Regions from separate parts of the Homo sapiens genome. Here region 2 is linked to region 1. The links are contacts of gene promoters, found by promoter capture Hi-C in human tissues and cell types (Jung and others, 2019). All regions are on one chromosome and are shown on one strand. Each heading gives the region's core, a stretch centred on a gene start or on the middle of the fragment in contact. The rest is flanking DNA. Distances are from core to core; before and after follow the strand shown.

What was found. Contacts are between HindIII fragments. The study calls those that stand out against the background at their distance.
Region 2: a fragment that was not itself captured here is called in contact with the fragment with the promoter of ZNF485 in region 1 in 1 of the 25 tissues and cell types used here (dorsolateral prefrontal cortex).

Annotation. Positions count from the first base shown.
Region 1 is chr10:43,603,337-43,608,521 of GRCh38, reverse strand. ZNF485 (zinc finger protein 485) reads right to left here and starts at 2,084. Exons shown (of 5, transcript NM_145312.4): 1 at 1,976-2,084; 2 at 1,448-1,525. The coding sequence starts at 1,471. It also overlaps the pseudogene CAP1P2. RefSeq lists a silencer at 1,769-2,048 and an enhancer at 2,329-2,378. The HindIII fragment of the contact is 5,082 bases long and covers 1-4,508 here.
Region 2 is chr10:44,869,198-44,874,812 of GRCh38, reverse strand. All of the region lies in intron 2 of TMEM72-AS1 (TMEM72 antisense RNA 1), which reads left to right. Among named protein-coding and RNA genes, the nearest start is that of TMEM72, 39 kb to the left of the region's middle. The HindIII fragment of the contact is 3,983 bases long and covers 1,758-5,615 here.

The DNA of each region.
Region 1 (5,185 bases), core at 835-3,334:
AGTTCCAACAGTGCTCATGGAAACCAACAAGTAAAAGCTGAGGGCTCAGGGGATGTGCGACTCCTCCCTTGAGCAGGTTCTTCCTGCATGCCTGTCCTGCTCCCTCCTCCAGGCCTAGCCTCTGCTCACTCCACCCTTCATGTCACCTCATCAAAAAGGTCTTCTATTTCTCCACCCCATCCTCTGCCACTCAGTCTCGAAACCCATTTCACTTTTCTTCACAGGATTTCTCACCACCTGGCAGGAGAGGTTTGCACTGACTGTCAGCATCCTCTCTAATGTGAGCTCCAGGGGGACAGTGTGGGTCACTGCTGCCTCCCAGTCAAAAACACTGCCTGACACAGAAGTGTTCAAGCTTTATTCAATCAACAAATGAATAGAAACTTTGAAAAGACATGGAAAGTGATTAGCTTTATCCGAGAATTTACAGGGAGTATGATCTGACTCTGGGGCAGAATATTTTTAAAAAAGAAAAAAAAATTGCTTTTCATAAGAGTAACAACTTACTATGTACCAGCCACGGTGCTAAACCCTGAGATACATATCATCTCTCTAAATTTCTGCCGTAACTATATAAAGTAAAATCTATTTCGTAGCTAAAGACACAAAGGTTCAGAGAGTTGGAAGAACTTGCTCAAGGTCCCAGGGCTGGTTGAAGGCACAGTATAAAAGGAAGCCACAAAAAGTGGTAATGAAACTAGAACAAATTGGAATGGCTATGAAATACTAAAAGAAAAAATGAGTAAGCCTTAAAAAAATGAAAAGTGTGTTTCAAATGAAATTACTTGACTTAGAGCAGTAGAAATGTAGGTGATCTTTAATTTTTTTAATTTTATTTGTATAATAGACACTCAAATGTTTATCACTTCCTTTCAAAATACCAATTATTTAATCAGCTTCTCAAAATCCTTCAAAACCTAGTTTTCTCCAGGATAAAAGCAAACTCCAGTCTGGGATTCTAGACCATGAATGTTTCCAACTTTCTCAGACCAGTTTGTTCATGGTCCCGCCATAATGACTTCATTCAGGCAGCGCTTTCCCCTAGTATCCTCTGCAATTATGCAAATCTCATTTATTCTTCAGGAAGAACTAAGGCGCCCACTACTCCACCCCTCCCACCCTACCACACACTAAAGGTCAAGAGAGCACTGCTATCACCCTATGTCTTTATGGCCTACGTCTTTACATGCTAACGTGTATTTTTTTCATCGTCTGCCAGTTTGCAAAGCACTTTTCTGTTTCTAGCACTCTAGAAAACATGGGTAGCAATAATCTACTTGGTGAATGACTACGTAATGGGTAGACAGGACGGAAATCGCGGGACCCATCCAGGATTGGTTCGGGTAGCTTTGTCCACACACAGGGCAGGGCATTGTCCGGGCAAGAGGCATAAACCCCACCTCGCTGAAACACGTGGTTTCTCAAGAAATGGAAAAATCAAACTTGCCTGGATCTGGGCTCTTGGGGCCATCTGTCTCCTGAACTGTTCTCCCAGGCAAGGGCTGAGAATCCTGCGTAAGTCAATCTGGGAAAGAAGAGAGGAAATTGAGGAAGTCCCTCCGTGCCCTAGCCTAGCTAGAATCTGCCCTCTAGACCAGGTCCCCGCCCGCCCGTTCCCTCCACAGGTGGGCAGACAGGTCCAGGTGGGTACGCTCGGGAAGAAAGGAAAGGGAACGGCTGCTGGGATCCGGCCTGGACTGCAGCCAGCTCCACGCCAAACACTTTTGGCAGCACCGGGGGACGGCCTTGTCAGTGGCCCAATCTGTCGGCCGGGGCGCAAGGCTGGAGCGCTCTGTGATGCACCAGCCTCGAGCGGTCGCTCCACACGGCGCAGCCACTGCGGGTGGGCACTGCCCACCGCCGCCTTCCCCTCCCACCCCGGCTCGCCCCTCGACCCGCCCCTGGGAAAGGCGGGGAGCACCCGCCAGGGGCTCGAGGCTTCAGGGACCCAGCCTGACCCCGGCCGCTCACGAACCGAACCGAGCCGGCAGGGCTGCGGAGCTGCACGCCCAGAGAGTCAGCGACCACACCACGCCGTTCGGACAGTAACCACCAGCCAGGGGCTGGTGCAGCGCTCGCACCACGCGGAGACAGGCTGGACCGGAAGCGGAAGTGGCTGAGGCCGCGGAGGCCTCTGGGAAACGTAGTCTGGGCCGCTTGGGGTCTTAGGGGCTCCATCCGCAGAGCAGGTTGGCATCACCTGGGAATCTTTGAAAAGTGAAGGTGCGGGAAGTGGAGAGCGGCTGATCGCAGTCGGGAGGTGATACATTATGACTGACATGCAAAATCTGGTAAAAAATTGGACAGGGCAGTGGGCCGCCTGGAGGCAGTATCCCATACCTCTGACATGCACCGTGGATATGGAGATAGTCCTTCAAAAGCAGGAGCAGCTCCATATGCGCAGGCATTTGACTCGCTGCTTGCCTGCCCTGTGGCAGAGTACTTGAAGATCAGTAAAGAGATTGGGGAAGACGTGCAGAAAGATGTGGAGATGGTACACACAGTTTTGAAGTTGGAGTGAGCTCTCTTGGTTACAGCTTCTCAGTGTCAATAGCCGGCAGGTAATAAGCTTTCCGATCTGTTGGCACCTATCTCAGAGCAGATCAAAGAAGTGATAACCTTTTGGGAGAAGAACCGAGGCAGCAAGTTGTTTAATCAGCTGTCAGCTGTCAGTGAAAGTATCCAGGCCCTAGGCTGGGTGGCTATGGCTCCCAATCCTGGCCCTTATGTGAAAGAAATGAATCATGCTGCTGTGTTTTATACAAACTGAGTCCTTAAAGAGTACAAAGATGTGGATAAGAAGCATGTAGACTGAGTCAAAGCTTATTTAAGTATATGCACAGAGCTGCAGGCTTACATTAAGGAGTTCCATACCACCGGACTGCCTGGAGCAAAACGGGGCCTGTGACAAAAGAACTGAGTGGACTGCCATCTGGACCCTCTGCTGGATCAGCTACTCCTCCCCCACCACCAGGCCCCCCTCCTCCACTAGTCTCTGTCAGTTCAGGCTCAGATGAGTCCGCTTCCCTCTCAGCACTGTTTGCGCAGATTAATCAGGGGGAGAGCATCACACATGCCCTGAAACGTGTATCTGATGACATGAAGACTCACAAGAACCCTACCCTGAAGGCTCAGAGTGGTCCAGTACGCAGTGGCCCCAAGCCATTCTCTGCACCTAAACCCCAAACCAGCCACAAAGAAGGAGCCAGCTGTACTTGAACTGGAGGGCAAGAAGTGGAGAGTGGAAAATCAGGAAAATGTTTCCAATCTGGTGATTGATGACACAGAGCTGAAACAGGCGGCTTACATATACAAGTGTGTCAACACGATGTTGCAAATCAAGGGCAAAATTAACTCCATTACAGTAGATAATTGTAAGAAACTTGGTCTGGTATTCGATGATATGGTGGGCATTGTGGAGATAATCAACAGTAGGGATGTCAAAGTTCAGGTGATGAGTAAAGTGCCAACCATTTCCATCAACAAAACAGATGGCTGCCATGCTTACCTGAGCAAGAATTCCCTGGATTGTGAAATAGCCAGTGCCAAATCTTCTGAGATGAATGTCCTCATTCCTACAGAAGGCGGTGACTTTAATGAATTCCCAGTTCCTGAGCAGTTCAAGACCCTCTGGAATGGGCAGAAGTTTGTCGCCACAGTGACAGAAATTGCTGGATAAGCGAAGTGCCACTGGGTTCTTTGCCCTCCCTTCACACCATGGGATAAATCTGTATCAAGACGGTTCTTTTCTAGATTTCCTCTACCTTTCTGCTCTTAAAACTGCTTCTCTGCTCTGAAAAGCACAGCTACCTGCCTTCACTGAAATATACCTCAGATGTGCAGTGGGATAGCAGGTCAGTTGATCTTCTGCAGGAAGGTGCAGCTTTTCCAAATCAGCTCAACTGCCGACGAGGACTAATGATGCATTTTAGCTTTGAGCTTTGGGGGTTATTCTACCAACAAACAGTCCACTGGGAAGAAAACAGTCCCAGGAATTAACAGATCAGAACGTTCACACTGGTTAATCTTTTTCTGACAATGAGCATGAAGGTAGCAGAAGCTGGTGTGTTTCCAGATGGTTCTTCTAACCAAACTAATTTTTCACTATTGACAAGTGAGGCAAGGATTGCACTGGACCAAAGGCTGAGGCTTGGCCATCTAGCATTCCACGCAAAATTGTTTCCTATAAGCATTCCTTTTATTCACTATTCTATCCTGGGTCTGCCTCAACCATGAGATAGGAGAGTCTCCGGTACTAGCTGCTGTAGCAGTGCCCTTCATCCAGGGCAGTTAAAGGAGTATTCAACCCTTTCTTTCTCTGGGATCCCTGCCCAGCACCTTCCTACAGAGATGAAAAAAAAAAAAAGGAAAAACAACACTCCATTCCAAGGAGTCTGGTATTCCTGAATCCTCCTTCCCTGCTAGGTGCCTGTCACCTGTCTTCACTGCCTCCTTTTCCCTGTCACACTCACCAGCTTATGGCTTCTGTCCAAGCACCTGAACAGGGGACCAAAACCTCCACTGCAAGCTGCTTTTAGGTCTTGATTTATGTAAGAATCTTGCACAGCACTGCTAATGTAAATTTCAGTTTTTTCCCTCTAGGACAAACACTTACCAAAATACGCAACTTTTTTGGTGGGAAGAGAGATTGTCCTGTGATTTCTACCCATTTCCTGATCCTGTGGAAATAAATCTTTATGTACTTAAAGTTATACAGAAAATAGAATGAAATAAATACCAAAAAAAAAAAAAAGCAAAGTGAAGGTACCTGGGTCCCAGCTTCAGAGATTCTGAATTAATTGCCCTAAGTGTGGTCCTGGCATTCGGATTTTTTAAAGCCCCCAAGTGGTTCTAATGTACTGCTTAGGTTGACATCTGCCACCAGAAACTGATACGGAAAGTATGAGAGACATATTTTATGTGCCTTTGGATAGCTATTTGTTTCCAAATAATCCTGTTTTTATTTCATACAAATAAAAAGCATGTTAGAAAAGTACATCACCTAGAACACTAAAAACATTATTTCCTCACTATTTGCTGACATAGAAAATGAAAGTAGGTTGAATCTGTTTTAACAAATGTATTATTTTCTAGGAAAAACATATGTTTCTATTTATTAACTCCAGGAATTGGAAAGCTAAGGGAGGAAAATGTATCTCTCTCATTCAATTAGGGCCTTTTTTTT
Region 2 (5,615 bases), core at 2,500-4,999, 1.3 Mb before region 1:
GCATGGGAATTTAGCCTCACTTACTGATGAGGAACTGAAGAGTCAGAGGGGCGATTTGACTTGCCCAGATCACAGAGCTCTTAAGGGGGCACAGTCTGGTCTTAAACTCAGTTCTTCTGGCTTCGAGTTGAAGGTCATGTCCACAAACTCCCAGAGCAAGAACTGAGTCTCAACTCTGACCTTTGGATTGTGCGTGCTACACCAGGAATCACAGCTTCACAGGGAATAAATGTAGACTTGTTTCATTGCACAAACTGGTGGCATTTCTACCAGTCATAGTGACTGAGAGATGAGCAGTGCTTTGGCACTCTAACTGGGTGACCCTCATCTCCCTTGTGCCACCTGAGCCCACCCAGGGGAACACTCCCATCCAGCTATCCTGGTCAGGGCTGCATTGAAACCACTGGTTCCTCCAGGACCCAAAGCCGCTTTTCTGGATGGAATGTAAATCATTCCTACCTGGGGCCCTGCCAAGCCTTGGCAGGATTCAATGTGACATTCAGTTCCAGATTAATCCAAGTTGGAACAGTTTTGCTGAAGGTTTAGAGACCTTCAATTTATTTATCTTCTGAAACCCTGAAACAGCTTTAATAACATAGCTTTGGATTTCTGCAAGTGAGATGTATGGGCTCAATAAGTATTATTTTTACAACAGATATCCATAATCATTATAGTAACAAAGGCACCTTCCTATATTTCTTTAAAGTTTGTTTCTTTCTTTTAAGCTTTGTCCCAGGAATGGGGTCTGTAATTCAGGGACCTGTAGAAGTTCACAGTGTGAGAGGAATGAAGTGTCCAATCTGCAATCTGAATCTTCCCTATGAAATTTCCACCTGGTGCCCTCCAGCGCAGATTCTCGCACCCACAGTCCTGCCTTACAGGGCAGACCATTTCCTCTCTGACAGTACTACCTGTCTGAATGTTCTGCTTCAAACTGAGTCAAGATATGTGAACCCTGGGTAGAAGAATTATCAGGTCTGGAGGGAGCACAAGCAAACTATCCCATTTTATGGACGTGGAAACCGAGGCCTGAGGGAGAGACGCACCAGGAATCAGGAGATCTGGCTCTGATCAGCTGTACAAATTGAGAATTGTGACCTGACCTTGTCCAACCCAAGTGGCCCAACTCCTAATTCTGTGAGTGACATGTCTCTGTTACTTTGGAATATTGATTGAAGGTATGTGATTACAACTTTTTATTATAATATTCTGAGACAATTTTTTATTATAATCTTATGAGAAGCTAAGGACTGGGTGGATATTTTCCTGGGTTAAAAGTAAAGTTTTTCTTGTTGAAAACTTAGACATTCAGAAAATTTTCAAATTGTTTTTATTATATAGAAACTGTAGATTAGAAACATATTGTATGATGATTGTTCATGATGCTTCAGCGTAATCACTTCAGCAATGTAGCAATGACGCCATTCAGGGGCGTTTTCAAAGTGTGGCCTTGGGCCAGCACCATCGGCATCTCAGGAAACTCTCACAGGGACAGCCCTGCTCTACTGGATCAGAAGCTCTGGGGCTGGGACCCAGCAATCCATGCTTTAACAAGCCCGTCAGGGGCTTCCTATTCATGCTGAAGTCTGAGACCCACTGTTACGGAATATTGTCTTCCTGATCTTGATAGTGTGATGGTAAATTTTATGTGTCAATGTGGCTAGGATATGCTGCCCAGTTGATTGGTCAAACACTAGTCTAGAAGTTGCTGTGAAGGTATTTTTTAAACATTTAAATCAGTAGACTTTGAGAGAAGCAGATTACCCTTCATCATTTGGGTAGGCCTCATCTAATCAGCTGAAGGCATTAAGAGAAATGACCGAGGTCCCATGGGGAGGAAGGAATTCTGCCTCCAGACTGTCCTGGAACTCAAGACTGCAACATCAACTCCTGCCAGCTTTTCCAGCCTGCCAGCTTACTTTGAAAATTGCCAGCCCCCATGATTGTGTGAGCCAATTCCTAATCTCTTCTCATATATATATATATATATATATATATATATATATATATATATATATATGTATGTATACATATACCGTATGGCTCTGTTTTTCTGGAGAACTCTGATAAATACAAACAGCATTAGAATCCAATCTCAGCAATTTCTCATTTAGCCCAAGCTCAGCTGCACAATCCTTCTCAGTGCAAGACTCCAGACAACTGCTTTCAATAGGCAGGAGCCAGCATAGGCATGCCACTTAATAGCTGTCCAGGACTTAAGATGGTAACTGGGGGCCGAAAAATTTGTAGGTATACCTGATTTGGCAGAAACCATTTGATTTTAGGCTATTCTTTAGAAAATTCTTTATTGAAAAATATCTAGATTTCAGTGGGAAGTTAAAAAATGGATGGATCCGAATTTGAATCCCTGCTCTAACTTACTCTCTAAGTGGCCTCAGGCAAGTCACTTAACCCATGTGATCAATATTTTCTTCATCAATGAAGCAAGCCGGGAGTGGTAGCTCATGCCTGCAACCCCAATGCTTTGGGAGGTTGAGGTGGAAAGATGGCTTGAGGCCAGGAGTTCAAGACCAGCCTGGGCAAGATGGTGAAACCCCTATCTCTACAAAAAATACAAAAAAATGTTGGGCATGGTGGCATACACCTGTGGTCCCAGCTACCCAGGAGGCTGAGGTGGGAGGATCGCTTTAGCCCAGGAGGTTGAGGCTGCAGGGAGCTATGATTGCACCACTGCACTCCAGCCTGGGCAACAGAATGAGACCCTGTCTTTAAAAGAAAAAGAAATGAACCAAAGGTACTAAGGCTTTCCTTCTGTGGTTTTAATAAAGCTTCTAGGTAGCACATCTCAGGTGCCAATTTATGTCAGGCTTATTGTAGGCGCTCGGTGAATAATAGTTATTATGGTTTCAGCTTGCCATTCCCCAAACTGGAGGTATGCCAGAAAGATATTACTGTTAACTGGGAGTCCTAGGTAACTGTTCTCTCTGGTGAATCTGTGATTTACTGTAACACAGTAGAGATAACATGTTTAATTGTAATCAATATAGCAACATTATTATTTGAGCAATGCAGTAGGCACTGACTGGGGAGGGATGCATCCCAAGAATGTGGGAGCCATAGCAGCAGCCCTTGGTGATGAGCAGTACTAAGGCTATGATGAAGGCTGTCAAGGATGCACCCACATTTCATCATAGAAAGAAGCCAGGCAAGCCATGGGCTCTGGGAATTTCTATTAAAACAATATAGACTTTTAAGGGGGGATGTGGGGTACACAATCTATTGGAAATGTTATTTGTCCTACATAATTCTAGGGACATGAATGATGTAGGGAAACAATGTTATCAAACAACACGATTTTCTGTTTCAACTGAGAGGAAGAGTGGCCTATTCAAGTAAGCCCAGATTAATGTGTGAACATAGCTAAAAGGATCAGCATTTTCCTGTTACTTGAACACTCACAGTGCATTCAATTATATTTTAATGAACTTGAAAAACTGAATTCAATAGAAACAGTTTTGGAAGACTAAGAGGCAAAGCTTAATGATGAAGATATTAGAAAAGTTATACAAACTAATAACTACTAAGAAAAGTAAGGTGGTATTCAAAGATTTCCCCTCCTCAAATCCCCAAGCCCGGATGGGTTATAGATGAATCTTACTAAATTTTCAGGAACAGTTAATTGCTAATCTTTATAAGTGGTTCCGTAAGATGGGAAGAGAAAGTTGTGTAGCTCATTTTATGAGTCTAATGTAATTCATAACTCAAGTATCAGATAAGAACAATAAATACAAAGAGAAGAAGACTTCAATTGATTAGTATATCAACATTGAAGGAAAAACTAAATCTTGGCTAAGTGAATCAAATCTTTTGTTAAGAATATATTATAATTAAGTAGGATGCCACCTAGGAATACAAGAGTGACTCATCATTGGAAAAATTGTCATAAAATCTTTTGTTAAAAATATTGCCATATTAAAAGACTACTGAAGAAAAATTACATGGCAATTAAAATTAATACAGAAATAGTACTTTATGAAATTCAACAACTTTTATGATTAAAAAAGCATAGAAAACTAGGAACAGGAGGAAATTTCCCTAACTTGGCAAAAGTTATATTCAAAAAAACCTACCACAAACCTAATATTTAATGGAGAAACATAAGACCCATTTCCTTTGAAATTACAAACAAAATAAGGATGTCCAATGCTATGGTCTGAATGTCTGAGGCCTCCCCAAATTCATATATTGAAAATTTCAAGATAATGGTATTAAAAGGTGCGGCCTTTGGAAGATGATTAGGTCATGGGGGCAGAATCCTCAGGAATGGGGTTAGGGCCTGAGACCCCCTCATCCCTTCTACTGTATGAGGACACAGTGAGACTGTGTGCAGAAAGCATGCCCTCACTAGACACCAAATATTTTAGTGTCTTGATGTTGGAATTCCCAGCCTCCAGAACTGTGAACAATAAATTTCTGTTGTTTATAAGCCACCCAATTTAGGGTATTTTTTATAGCAGCCCAAATGGACTAAGACATCCATTCTAACTGTTTCCGTTTGGCACAGTGTTTGAGGTTCTGGCCAATGTTGTAAAAAGAGGAAAAAAAAAAAGCTGGAAGAGTTGGTGTGTGAGAGAGATTCTAGCTGCTCTATTGAGGGCCAGTGACGGGCAGGGGTGAAGGCGGCGGGGATCGGACCAGACACTAAATCACTCCGGCTTGAGCTGGGTCTGTAGCTATATAGGTGGTGAGAAGTGGTTGGATTTTGGGTAAATTTTGAAGATGTGCTTGACAAATTTGTCAAAGGATTTGAAAGTGGGGAACGAGAAAAAGAGAGGGGCCAAGGGTAATTCTGTGTTTTTTTGGTTTTGTTGTGTGTGTGCTATTTTTAACTCGAGCAGTGGGAATTACTAAGATGGGGAGACAGTGGGAAGCATAGTTTGTGGGAATTTTGAAAATGCCAAGTTTGAGATCTCTACTAGATATTTAAGCAACGATGCCAAGAGGTAGAGAGGACTCTAGGGTTCAGGGAGGAGGTCTGAGCTACAGGGAGACATTTGAGGGTGGTCAGTGTAGAGATGAGATTCAGAGCTATGAAATCCAGTGAGCTCACCAAAGGAGGCGAGTTAGAGAAAAGAAGACTGAGTTTTAGGGCGCTGCCAGTTGAGAGGTTGGGGCAATGTTGGGGGAAGGAGAAAGACCATCCAGGAAAGTATGAGGAAAACTACAGGCACACGGTGTCCCAAAGGACAGGTGGAGAAAGCTTCTGTAGAGAAAACGCTCAGTGATATTTTCTGAGAGTCTGAACACGTGACAAAAGGGAGTGAATCCTTTTCTCCTTCCCTTCCTCCCTTTCTACCTCCTTCCTTCCTTCCACAAGGGTGTAAATTCCTCTGTCCCTCCCTTTCCTTCCTCCCTGCCTCTCCGTCTCCCCTCCCTCCCTCCCTTCCTCCCTCCCTCCCTCCCTCCCTTCCTTCCTTCCTTCTTTCCCTCCTTCCTTCCTGTCTTCCTTCTTTATGAATGTTTACAGCTTTGTTTAGGTATAAACAACACAGAATAAATTGCACATGTTTAAAGTGCACGATCTAAGTTCCGACATATGTCTACATCTATGAAATCACCACCACAATCACTATAGTGGCCCTATCCGTCACCCC